Linked DNA regions of Homo sapiens: region 2 is linked to region 1. The links are contacts of gene promoters, found by promoter capture Hi-C in blood cells and fetal thymus (Javierre and others, 2016). All regions are on one chromosome and are shown on one strand. Each heading gives the region's core, a stretch centred on a gene start or on the middle of the fragment in contact. The rest is flanking DNA. Distances are from core to core; before and after follow the strand shown.

Region 1 (5,027 bases), core at 1,656-4,155:
ATATCTCAGGACCTCAAAGAGTCAAAGGGGCAGCTGAAGCTGCAGGGCAATGACCCAGCCTCTCCTTCAGCCAGATTGCTGGGAAAATAAGCATCCCATTTATTTGATATAATAGACATCTCAAGATAAAAGGAGACAACCTACATTTGAGGGTTCCATTCCACTAGAACACAGCAGAGCAGTTCTCAAACTGGTAATGCATAGGAATGCCTTGGAGGGCATGTGAGAACACAGATTGCTAGGCTTTATCCCAGAGTTTCGGATTCTATAGGTCCTGGGTGGAGCCCAAGTTTTGCATCTCCAAGTTCCCAGGTGATGCTGATGTTGCTGGTCCAGGGACCAGGCTTTGAGAACTATAGCTCTAGACCAATCTCAGATATGCTTGCAAAATGAGGACGAGATGGAGCAAGGGAAAGCAGCTTTCAAAGTCTCTTAAAAACGCTTTTAAAATAATTTTTAATATTAAGTCTCTTTAAGGACTTTTTACTTATTCTTCTGAAAACCTGGAAGAATTTGAAACTACTACACAGCAGACACTGTAACATGGAAACCAAGAGTGAGGAAAATCTTGTGATCATTAACTATTTATCCCCCAAGAGTTTATCTTTTTAAAAAATCTAAATGCCAAAATAATATCTCAGGTTTTAATACCAGCTTTTGGAATGTGCTTATCTGCTAAAGTTCATGCATATGAAAAGAAATCTACATGCCTTTTAAAGTGAGTCATTTTCGTGAAAGCCATCCAGCTCAGAGGAACTATTGATTTTACCATTTTGATGCTTGCCTGGGTGTTTTGCAGAGCTTAGAACAATGAGCAAAAAGTTAAATCATATAAAACTGTGTTTGCCACCGTGACAGGTGGGGGGTGGATGGGAACTGAGGGTCAGTGTGGTGAGATGCAAGACAATCGCCATCAGGGCAAATAATACTGTTTCCATCTATCTCTCACAGCCAGGTAAAGGAGACAGAAGTAGCCCTTCTCTAACTTTTCCGAGATTCCCTTGCTCAGGTTTTAGGGTAACGTCTTGCAATTCTGGGATTCCCTTTCCCAAATCAAATAAAGAAAAAGCTACATACACATCTCTGGAGGAAAATGTCTGTATTAAAAGCCAAAAAACCACATAAGTACAAGAAGAAACGCCCACCAGGCCACGTCACTGGATAGATCAACTTGGAAAAGGTTCATAAAGTTCATTTTCAGCGGTAACAATATATCGGTGTTAAATCCTTCCCATGCCCTCCCCCCAATTTTAAATAAATTAAAAAACCACAAATTTCAAATACAACTATGTTCAGATACAAAGAGCTTCTCTTACTACAGCAATAGCAATTTAATCTTTTTGTTTTGTATTTTTTTTACTAAAACTTTCATTTAAAACAGTTATTAAATATATAAAACAAATACACAGGATTTGGTCATTTTCTGCCATGAATCTAGGGCACGTGGGTGCGGGGAAGGAGTCGGGCAGGGGGATGCAATAGAGGGGAAAGGGCCCCATTTCCCTCCTCTCCGTCTTCGGAGCTGCGATCCCACCCTCAGTCCAAGGGCTTAAACATCTGCTTTTCGGAACTGGAAGCGCAGCACAAACCTTGCTTTTCAAAGGCGCTGGGGTCTCTCGGCGGCCCCATCTCGGGAAGAGGAACTAACGATAACTACAGCACGAAGCACACCGGCCGAGTCTCCGGCGGGAAAGGCACCCGCGCGCGCGGACACAGGACGGACACAGGGAGGAGCGGAGCGGGTCACTTGGTCGCCACCCCCGAAGTGACGGCCGCGGCGGCGGCGGCAGCGGCGGCGGCGGCGGCGGCTGCGGTGGTCCCTGCGGGCACTGCGGCGGGGGTGGCTGCGGTGGTGCTGGCGGTGGTCCGGCGCTGTTCCATGCCGTTGGGCAGGAAGCCGGCGATGATGGGCACCGGCCAGATGAGGGCGGCCACGCTCCACACCACGATGACCAGGGTCATGAAGCAGGCCACCAGCGTGGACTCAATGGGCTTACGGTTCAGCCGCCAGCCCGGCTCGCCCTGCAGCTCCTCCAGGCTGAAGTCTAGGCAGCAGAAATGCAGCGGCTCGCCCTGCAGCCACAGCGGCCCGGGCGGCTCGGCCGCGGGGTAGGCTGGCAGCGCGGTGGGCGCCCCGGCGGTGGCGGCGGCGGCGCTGGGGGCGGCGGCGGGCCGGAGGCGGCCGGTGCGGCGACCGCGCACCCAGCCGCAGCCCACGCAGAGGCGCAGGTCCTGCTGCGCGCCGCCCGCCGCCAGCCCCAGGTGCTCGATGAGCAGCGGCGGCCCGACGCGGTGGAAGGCGGCGGCGAAGAAAGCGCGGCCGTGCGCGTTGGTGGAGAAGAGCAGTAGGTCGCACTGGAAGCCCCGCGGGCGGCCCCAGCGCACGAGCAGCGAGCTCAGCATCTGCCGCTGCACGCTGATGTTGCACGGCGCCGCCGCCGCCGCCGCCTCCTCCGGGCCCGGGCGCTCGGGGGGCCCGGGGGCCGCCGAGGCCAGCAGCCGCGGGGCGATGGGCTCGTCCGCGGAGGACGCGTTGACTGAAGCATTGGAGGGCACCCCGAGGAGGCCGGGCGCGTCCGCGGCCCCGCCGCGGACGGGCGGCAGCGGGCAGGCGGCGGCCAGGAGCGCGGCGAGCAGGGGCAGCATGGCCTGCGGCGGGCGCCTACGCGCGCGAGGCCGGCGGCGGTTGCATGGCGAGCGGGCGACGGGCCGGCGAGCTCACGGTGGGACCGCGGGAGCCGGCGGCCGGGCGCAGTGCGGGCGCGCCGGGCGCCTGCCAAGCCCGCAGGGGCGGCGCGGAGGCGGTGACGGCGGCTGGCTCGGCGCGGGGATCCCTCCAGACCCGGTTGCGTTTGGGGTTCCCCGCCGCCCCCGGCGCCGGGGCCCTTGGGCTGCCGCGCTGCTCTGCGGGGCCGGGTGCTATCCCAGAGCAGGATTCCCCGGCTCGGCTCCGCCTCCCGCGTGCCCCGCCCCGCCCCGCCCTCCGCTCGCCAGGCTCGGGGACTCAGGGGAGGGCGGGGTTCCACGCGCCGGGGCTGGGAGAGGAATCGCCGGGGCGGGGCTGGGTGCGGGGGCGCGGCGGAGAGCGGATCGCCCGGGGTGCGTGCGGGCGGGCGGGGAAGCCTGCGGACGCGCCCGGGCGCCCCCGCGCTCCGGGTGAATCGCGTTCTCAGAGGGAGGCTCCAGGGCCCGGAGACCATCCTTTTGTCAGGCCTGAGGGGAGCTTCGCTGTCTCGCCTTAGTGCTACCGAACCTCCTTTGTTTTACAGAAGGGGAAACTGAGGTCGAGAGAGGGGAAAGGGCCTCGCTAGGCCAACTCATGAGCCAGAAACAAGTCCGCGCCACTAGCTCTTTCTGCCTTTTTACGGTGTCTCTTACCTCAAATCTGTAGAGTTTGGCTGCTTTTTAATGGCTCCAACACAGCAGACTCACTTGGGATTCTCCTCGCAGCAAGCGAGGAAAATTCCAAGAACTCTGTGGAGTTTCGAGTGGAGAGTGACTGGCTGGGGGGAATGTGAGCCCTGAAGCTGTGCCGCCTGGGGGTCCCGAGGACACAGGTCCTGACAGGTCGAGTGAGCGCGTGTTCATGAAACAGTTGTAGGTTAGAACCCACGTCAAAGGGGCAGTTCATCCCCTTTGGGATATTATACGGGAGGAGGGCTACCAAGAATAACGTGTCAAGAGATCAGATTTATCACATTTATATTGAAAAGCACTTTCTTAGTAGTTCGGCCCCTCACACTTGGAAACAAACTTCAACGACCCTTCATCATTCCCATCGTTCTTTAGGGGACATTTATGTTGAATTATTATCTATTTTATTTTAGTTGGAAGCCCTTGTACTCCATGAGCACCAAGTATTCCTGATTCGGAGAGGGGAGGGGTGGAGGGAGCAGAGAAAGGCCTCAACAAAACCGCCTTCCTTCTAAACCAGCTAATCCTGAGAGGTCTGCCAAGAGTCCAGCTACATTGCTAGGCATCCTGGCTGATTACTTTTCTGGAAGCTTTTGTCCATTGTTTTCTAACAATGAGTAAAATGGGACTGAGAAAGTTGCAAAAACGCCTCAAAATAAAGCTCCCCAACTTATTCCACCTCTTGCCATCTAAGCAAGCCATTATTCTGACTTAGCCTTGGTTTCCCCATCTGAGTTGGGGGGTGGGTGGTACCTCCTCACAGGGCTGCTGTGATAATACTCCCAACCCAGTGTCTATCTGTCCCCAGATGTTCCCACATGGTGGTTGCTGTGATGTGGTTACTAACAGTGCTGCCCAAGTTGGCTGCCTAGAGTGGTCCTTGGTTTCTACAGAAATGGTTCATTTCCCCAAGGGGATGGGACTCCCTTTTCGTTTCAGCCTCCATCACTTTTGTGCTTGGAAGTGGTGCTACCAGGGAGAACAATGTGAATTTTCCTGCTTTTAATAAAAATGACTTCTCCTTTCAACCTTTGCATATCAGGAACAGAAGCTGCTCAGTGATGTGGCAGAACAGTTTTAATTTAAGCCATGTGTCTGGTGAACCCTGAAGAACAGGAATATCAAGTGATCCTGAGGGCTGAGGGAGGCCTAATCTTCAAGGGGTGCGTTTTGAGCCAGGCTGTTGCCTGTGACTGCAGATGACATTCTCTGGGGTTTCAGTCAGAGGCAGAGGCTTCCTGAGCTTTCCTGAGACACTCCTGGCTTTGTCTGTGCAGGGGGGAAGGCAGCAGCAAAGGGAAAAGACAAGAGATCTATTTGGGGAGCCAAGCAGTTCCCTGCAAAGTTGCGCCACTGAAGCTCTGCATCCTAGCAACCTGCATTCTGCCCACTTTTCCAGCAGGTGCCGTCCTGAGGACTCCGTCACCTCGCCCTCATTCAGAATGTAATTACCCTTCAAATAGTAACACAGATCCTACTTTCTAGATTGATTTGCTATCTTTTTGGAATTTGAGAACAGAAGATAGCGAGGAAGTTATTTTCTATCTTGTTTACTACTGTTCCCAGCAACGGGAAAAGCACCTAGCTCAGGGTAGAGGCTCAGTAAATACATT
Region 2 (5,093 bases), core at 218-2,717, 300 kb after region 1:
TCATTAAGTAGGGGAAGTTCATTGTCCCAAGCAGAAATGGATGGCAAAGGGGGTTTCTTCCTACCAGCTTGTGTCTCTGGACTTCAGATACATTAATGGTCTTTCTTACCCGTGCTTATTTTTACACCTCAGTCTTCTTACTTTTTTTTCCTCTTCCTTAGCAAGCCTCTCAGAGCGTCATTCTCCACAGCCCCGAGTTTGAGGATGCTTTGTGTGCCCTGATGGTAATGGCTGCTCCACTGGCCCCTCATGTAACCTCAGAGATCTGGGCAGGTACGTGGCAGAGTCCTTTTTTGACCAGTTACTACTAACTAGAATTTGTCGAAGCCTCTTTTTGAACATCATTCGGGACTCAGATGTCCTCAGATATAGGGTCCAACATTTGGCATCTATACTCAGCAACCTCTCTGTCCTGTACTCTGAATGGTAGTACTTCATCCACATGGTCACCCCTACCAAAAGGAAAGACACTTCCCTGCTTTGAATAATGTGCCCAGACTAATGTGGGTGTTGATGTTACCATCTTAATCCCTTCTCGTGACTCAGCCCCCCAGTATCCACATATTATGACCTGCGTGGTCTTTTTAAGATAAAAACTCATGTTTAATACCACTGTACAGGTGGAAATTAAGTTATAGGTCTAAACTTACACTGTAATTCAGCACTCTTCACCAATTATTCCTAATCTAGGCATCAAAGCAGGCCTGACTGCCTGCTTGAATTTCAGCCCCTAGAACCCTCCACATCATTGGGACTGTTAGCCTGGACAAAACCAGGACTTCACATAATCATCGAACTGGGATTAGGCCAAGCATATAGGGAGGGGCAAAGTGACATGTAATTGAGCTCCTGAAAGATCATGCATGCATGGGAAAGTCTTCAGATGTTTCTAGAAATAGGTCATCTGAAATGCATGTGACTTGGCAGTTTCGTTGACGTAAAAGATTTCTTCTAAAAAAAAGATCTCTCCTAATTAAATTTACTGATGTGGTGTCACAGAGAAGAAATGCATGTTGTTTAGTTGAGCAAACCACGAGTCTCAGTGTAAGCTTGAGTGATAAGAAGAATTTGAGGATTATTTGAAATTCCCACCACCCAAGCAACTTTATGCCTACAGGAAATAGGTGGAAATTACAGTAGGATTTATAGTTGACAGAGTATTGCCTGTGTCTCTCACAAAGCCTTGTTTATTGCCTTCTACTTTAAAACATAGTACTCCTTGTTGATTTGAGGGACTCATTGGGAATTGGGCCCTACCATCTCCCTCAGAGTTGCTTCTTAATTCCTCAGGAGGAGCAGTGGTTCCTTTTTCTTTTTAGCTAAGATGAGACTTATTTTTCCAGGGTCCCCTTTTTTACAGTATAAGTGTCTCTGTCAAAAGGAAGTGTTTTTCATTCCTTGAGGAAAAGCGAATCTGTTTTATTTCGCTTTCATTGTAAACCCATGAGCTTAGTTTGGATTTTTATCCTTTTTGATATCTAAAGCCACTTTAAAATTAAACTTGTTCAGCCAAATATTGAAGTTCACGTAGTGGGAGGATTTGCCAGCCAGTTTTTTGTTTATGTACCATATCTACAGTTTCTGACTTTAAGCATCAACCAAAAAAGTGGAAAGGGCTTTGGAAATCAGGAACTAATCCTAAAACCTGGGTAAGGATTTGGATGGGTCTGACTCTGAAGTTTCCTTTGGTTCATTCTTTGCTGCTTGCAAGACTGAATCAAGGTCCAGTTTACTTTAGCAGGAAAGAGATGTGGTGTAGCTCCCAACAGATTCTGCCCTACTTTATATGCTTTAAGACATCCTGATTGAGTACAAGTGTATTTCATTGTGTCTTAAGTCATCTTCTGGGTCTTTCCAGTTACTCTTTTAGTTACCCTTTTTAAACCAAGCTTTTGCAACTCCTGGCCCCCTCCAACAGGTGGCTTAGTTGGAAGAAGTCAGAGAGGCCTGGGTTGAGTGTACCCAAGATAAGTCTGAATTCTATATTAATTCCTGTCTTTCCATTCTGGAATTCGGGAAGTCCTTAATAATAGCATGCAGAGCTAAACACAACCACATAGCTTAAATACTAGCTACCAGTCAGTGTCAGATGCCTCTTTCATAGGGGTTGCAATTTTAAGTGACAATGAGGTAGTGCAACTGATTTAAAGTAGGAGGGGAAAGAGAGAGGAGGAGGAGAAGGCAATTATAAGGACTTCATGAGTTGAGCAAGATTTTAAACGTAAAGACGAAGGAGGTGAGGAAAGATGGGAAAAACTGAAATGTGTTTTCAGTGGATCTACAGGGGAGACAGTTTTTAAGTTTCTCACATTTTGAATCTTTAAGGGAGACAATTTTTGAGTCCGATTTATGTTAGAAACCTCTTTATACAATTAAAGAAATCATACCATTGGATAATCAGAATTGTTTTATCCTTTTTGTTCTAAGGAACCTCTCAAATGAACAATTTTGTTCCTATCAAAAGTTCCCCAAAGGGATCACTGTCATTCCAAATTGTCTTTGGAAATTTGTGGCACTTAAAAAGATATGCACAGGAGTTAGGGCTGTAATTAGAAAACATAAAGAAAGCCTGTGCTTGTGGTGGAGGAGGCAGTTTTAGATTGAAAAGACCAAGACATGAGCCGCAACATATCCATGGGTTGCTGCTTGTGGAATTTTGCATCTTGGTGCTTGATCAAAGTCAAGTCATCATTGATCAGGAGCCAGACAAAGCCTCCTGCTTATCGGTAGACAAAACTAACATAAAAGCAGTTCTCAGGAACACAAGAACAAGACTGAGGGAGAAGTCATTATGAGATTTTGCAATGGTGACTCGGGCACAGCGTGTCTCCAAGAAGTAACTGACTGACCACTTTACCACTTCACCCTTAGGGCTAGCTCAAGGACAAATTTATGGGACCTATTCCCATCCTCTCCCAGTGGACAAACAACATTCAAGATAGTACACAAGCAGATAGATAGGGCATTAGGCCAGCAGATGTTAGTTACTAGAAAACATTTTCACCAAAGAACAATAGAATTCTGATCAAAAAACCAAATGTCCAAAATGGGACCTATTCTTAAGAAAATAAGATAAATGCAACAGTAAAATCTTCAGTGAAATCCTGGAGTTCAATTCAGCATGAACGTAGTTCCCAGCCAAGGGTGAGTGGCACCTCATCCAGGTAGAGACACAAGTGGGTCTCAGATGCATGCACTGTTTCTGAGTCAAAGGTTCCAGTCAAAGGTAGTGAGAGTCTCAGTTGAAATTCCATGAACCTGCAATTCTATCAGCATCCTCCAGCCAGAGACCACCAGGAACACACCTTCAGATAACAATTTGGGTTTATTACCGGGGGAAACACTGGGCATCTCAGAGGGTGCTAGGAAGGACCTGTTATATAATGAATTTGGGCTTTGGTAGAATAATTTGGGGAAGGGTCTCAGGAAGTGAGGATTTGCTCTGGATTGAGTGCTGTCAGTAAGTGGGGACAGTTTTGTGATTGGGTATCTTAAGAAATCTTATCTTGCCGGGCGCGGTGGCTCACGCCTGTAATCCCAACACTTTGGGAGGCCGAGGCAGGTGGATCATGAGGTCAAGAGATCGAGACCATCCTGGCCAACATGGTGAAACCCCGTCTCTACTAAATATACAAAAAATTAGCCTGGCATGGTGGCGGGCACCTGTAGTCCCAGCTACTCGAGAGGCTGAGGCAGGAGAATGGCATGAACCCAGGAGGTGGAGCTTGCAGTGAGCCGAGATCACACCACTGCACTCCAGCCTGGGCGACAGAGCGAGACTCCGTCTCAAAAAAAAAAAAAAGAAATCTTATCTTTAGGGAGATACACCTGAGCAAGGATAAAGTTGTAATTAGTAAAGAAATAGCAGTCCCTCATATCTGCCTAGAGAAGGGGATGTTTGATATTTTGTGTGTTTCACAGTGACCTTGTCTTTGTGCTTTGACAAAATTATGACATGGTCTTGTTTTGGTCTCCTTTTATGTTTTCAGTGTGACTGTCTGATGTTGGTGTTCAGTGAGATCATTTGTGTTGAACAGGAGAATAATATGGCCTAGCTATGCACAACTGGTGAATTTCTTATAACACTGAGGCCTAGCTATAATTGTCAGACCAGTTCCCAGATGATAAGGACTGAGAATAAAAATCCCCTAACCATCACCCTCTAGAAATAAACAGCCACCATCAGCATCTTAGCGCAGATCATTGCAGTGGATATGGTGGCTGGGTGCAGTGGCTCACGCTTGTAATCCCAGCACTTTGGAAGGCCCAGGCAGGAGGATCACTTGAGCCCAAGAGTTCAAGACCAGCTTGGGCAACATAGGGAGACCCCATCTCTACAAAAAATTTTAAAATTATCTGGATGTGGTGGCATGTGTCTGTAGGCTCAGCTACTCGGGAGGCTGAGGTGGGAGGATCACTTGAGCCCAGGAGTTCACGGCTGCAGTGAGCCATAATCATGCCACTGTACTCCAGCCTGGCTGACAGAGCAAGAGCCTGTCTCACAAAACATAGAAAAAGTAAAATGATTGTGTTCACTTACCTATGTGTATTGTATTTTGTGTCCACTTGTCTGTGTTGTGTTGTGTTTTGTCATGTCTCTTTATAAAATTTAAATACCCTAAAATTTACCCATTTTAAGTATATACTCAGTGTTTTAAGTAAATTTATATACTTGTGCACCCATCACCATGATCAGTTTTAGAACTGGATTTCCATTACTGAAAAAAGGTTCCCCACACCATTAGTCAATCCCACACCCACTCCAACCCCCAGCATGACTAATCTTTCTGTCTCTGTAGTTTTGCCTTTTCCAGAAATGTTATATAAATGAAATCATACAATGTGTAGTCATTTCTGTTTTATTTCATTTAGCATAATGCTTTTGAGATTAATCCATGTTCTGTTTATAGTAGTTCATTCCCTTTTATTGATGACTTGTTTTATTGTTAAGCGAGAGGTCATCTTATAACCTGATTTACTCACTTAAATATTCCATGAACATATATTTATGGGCCATTAAATACTTTTCTACAACATCTTTTTTTTTTTTTGGAGATGGAGTCTCACTCTGTTGCCTAGGCTGGAATGCAGTA

Evidence for each region. Contacts are between HindIII fragments. The CHiCAGO score rates a contact against its expected background, and 5 or more counts as called.
Region 2: a contact is called between a fragment that was not itself captured here and the fragment with the promoter of TMEM158 in region 1, in 4 of 17 cell types (megakaryocytes, M2 macrophages, M1 macrophages and 1 more). The highest score is 8.3, in megakaryocytes.

The regions. Positions count from the first base shown.
Region 1 is chr3:45,223,382-45,228,408 of GRCh38, forward strand. It overlaps TMEM158 (transmembrane protein 158), which reads right to left and starts at 2,906. Exons shown (of 1, transcript NM_015444.3): 1 at 1,085-2,906. The coding sequence starts at 2,646. The coding sequence ends at 1,744. RefSeq lists silencers at 2,733-2,802, 2,813-3,152. The HindIII fragment of the contact is 4,918 bases long and covers 1-4,002 here.
Region 2 is chr3:45,523,836-45,528,928 of GRCh38, forward strand. It overlaps LARS2 (leucyl-tRNA synthetase 2, mitochondrial), which reads left to right. Exons shown (of 22, transcript NM_015340.4): 20 at 162-273. Among named protein-coding and RNA genes, the nearest start is that of LARS2-AS1, 17 kb to the left of the region's middle. The HindIII fragment of the contact is 840 bases long and covers 1,048-1,887 here.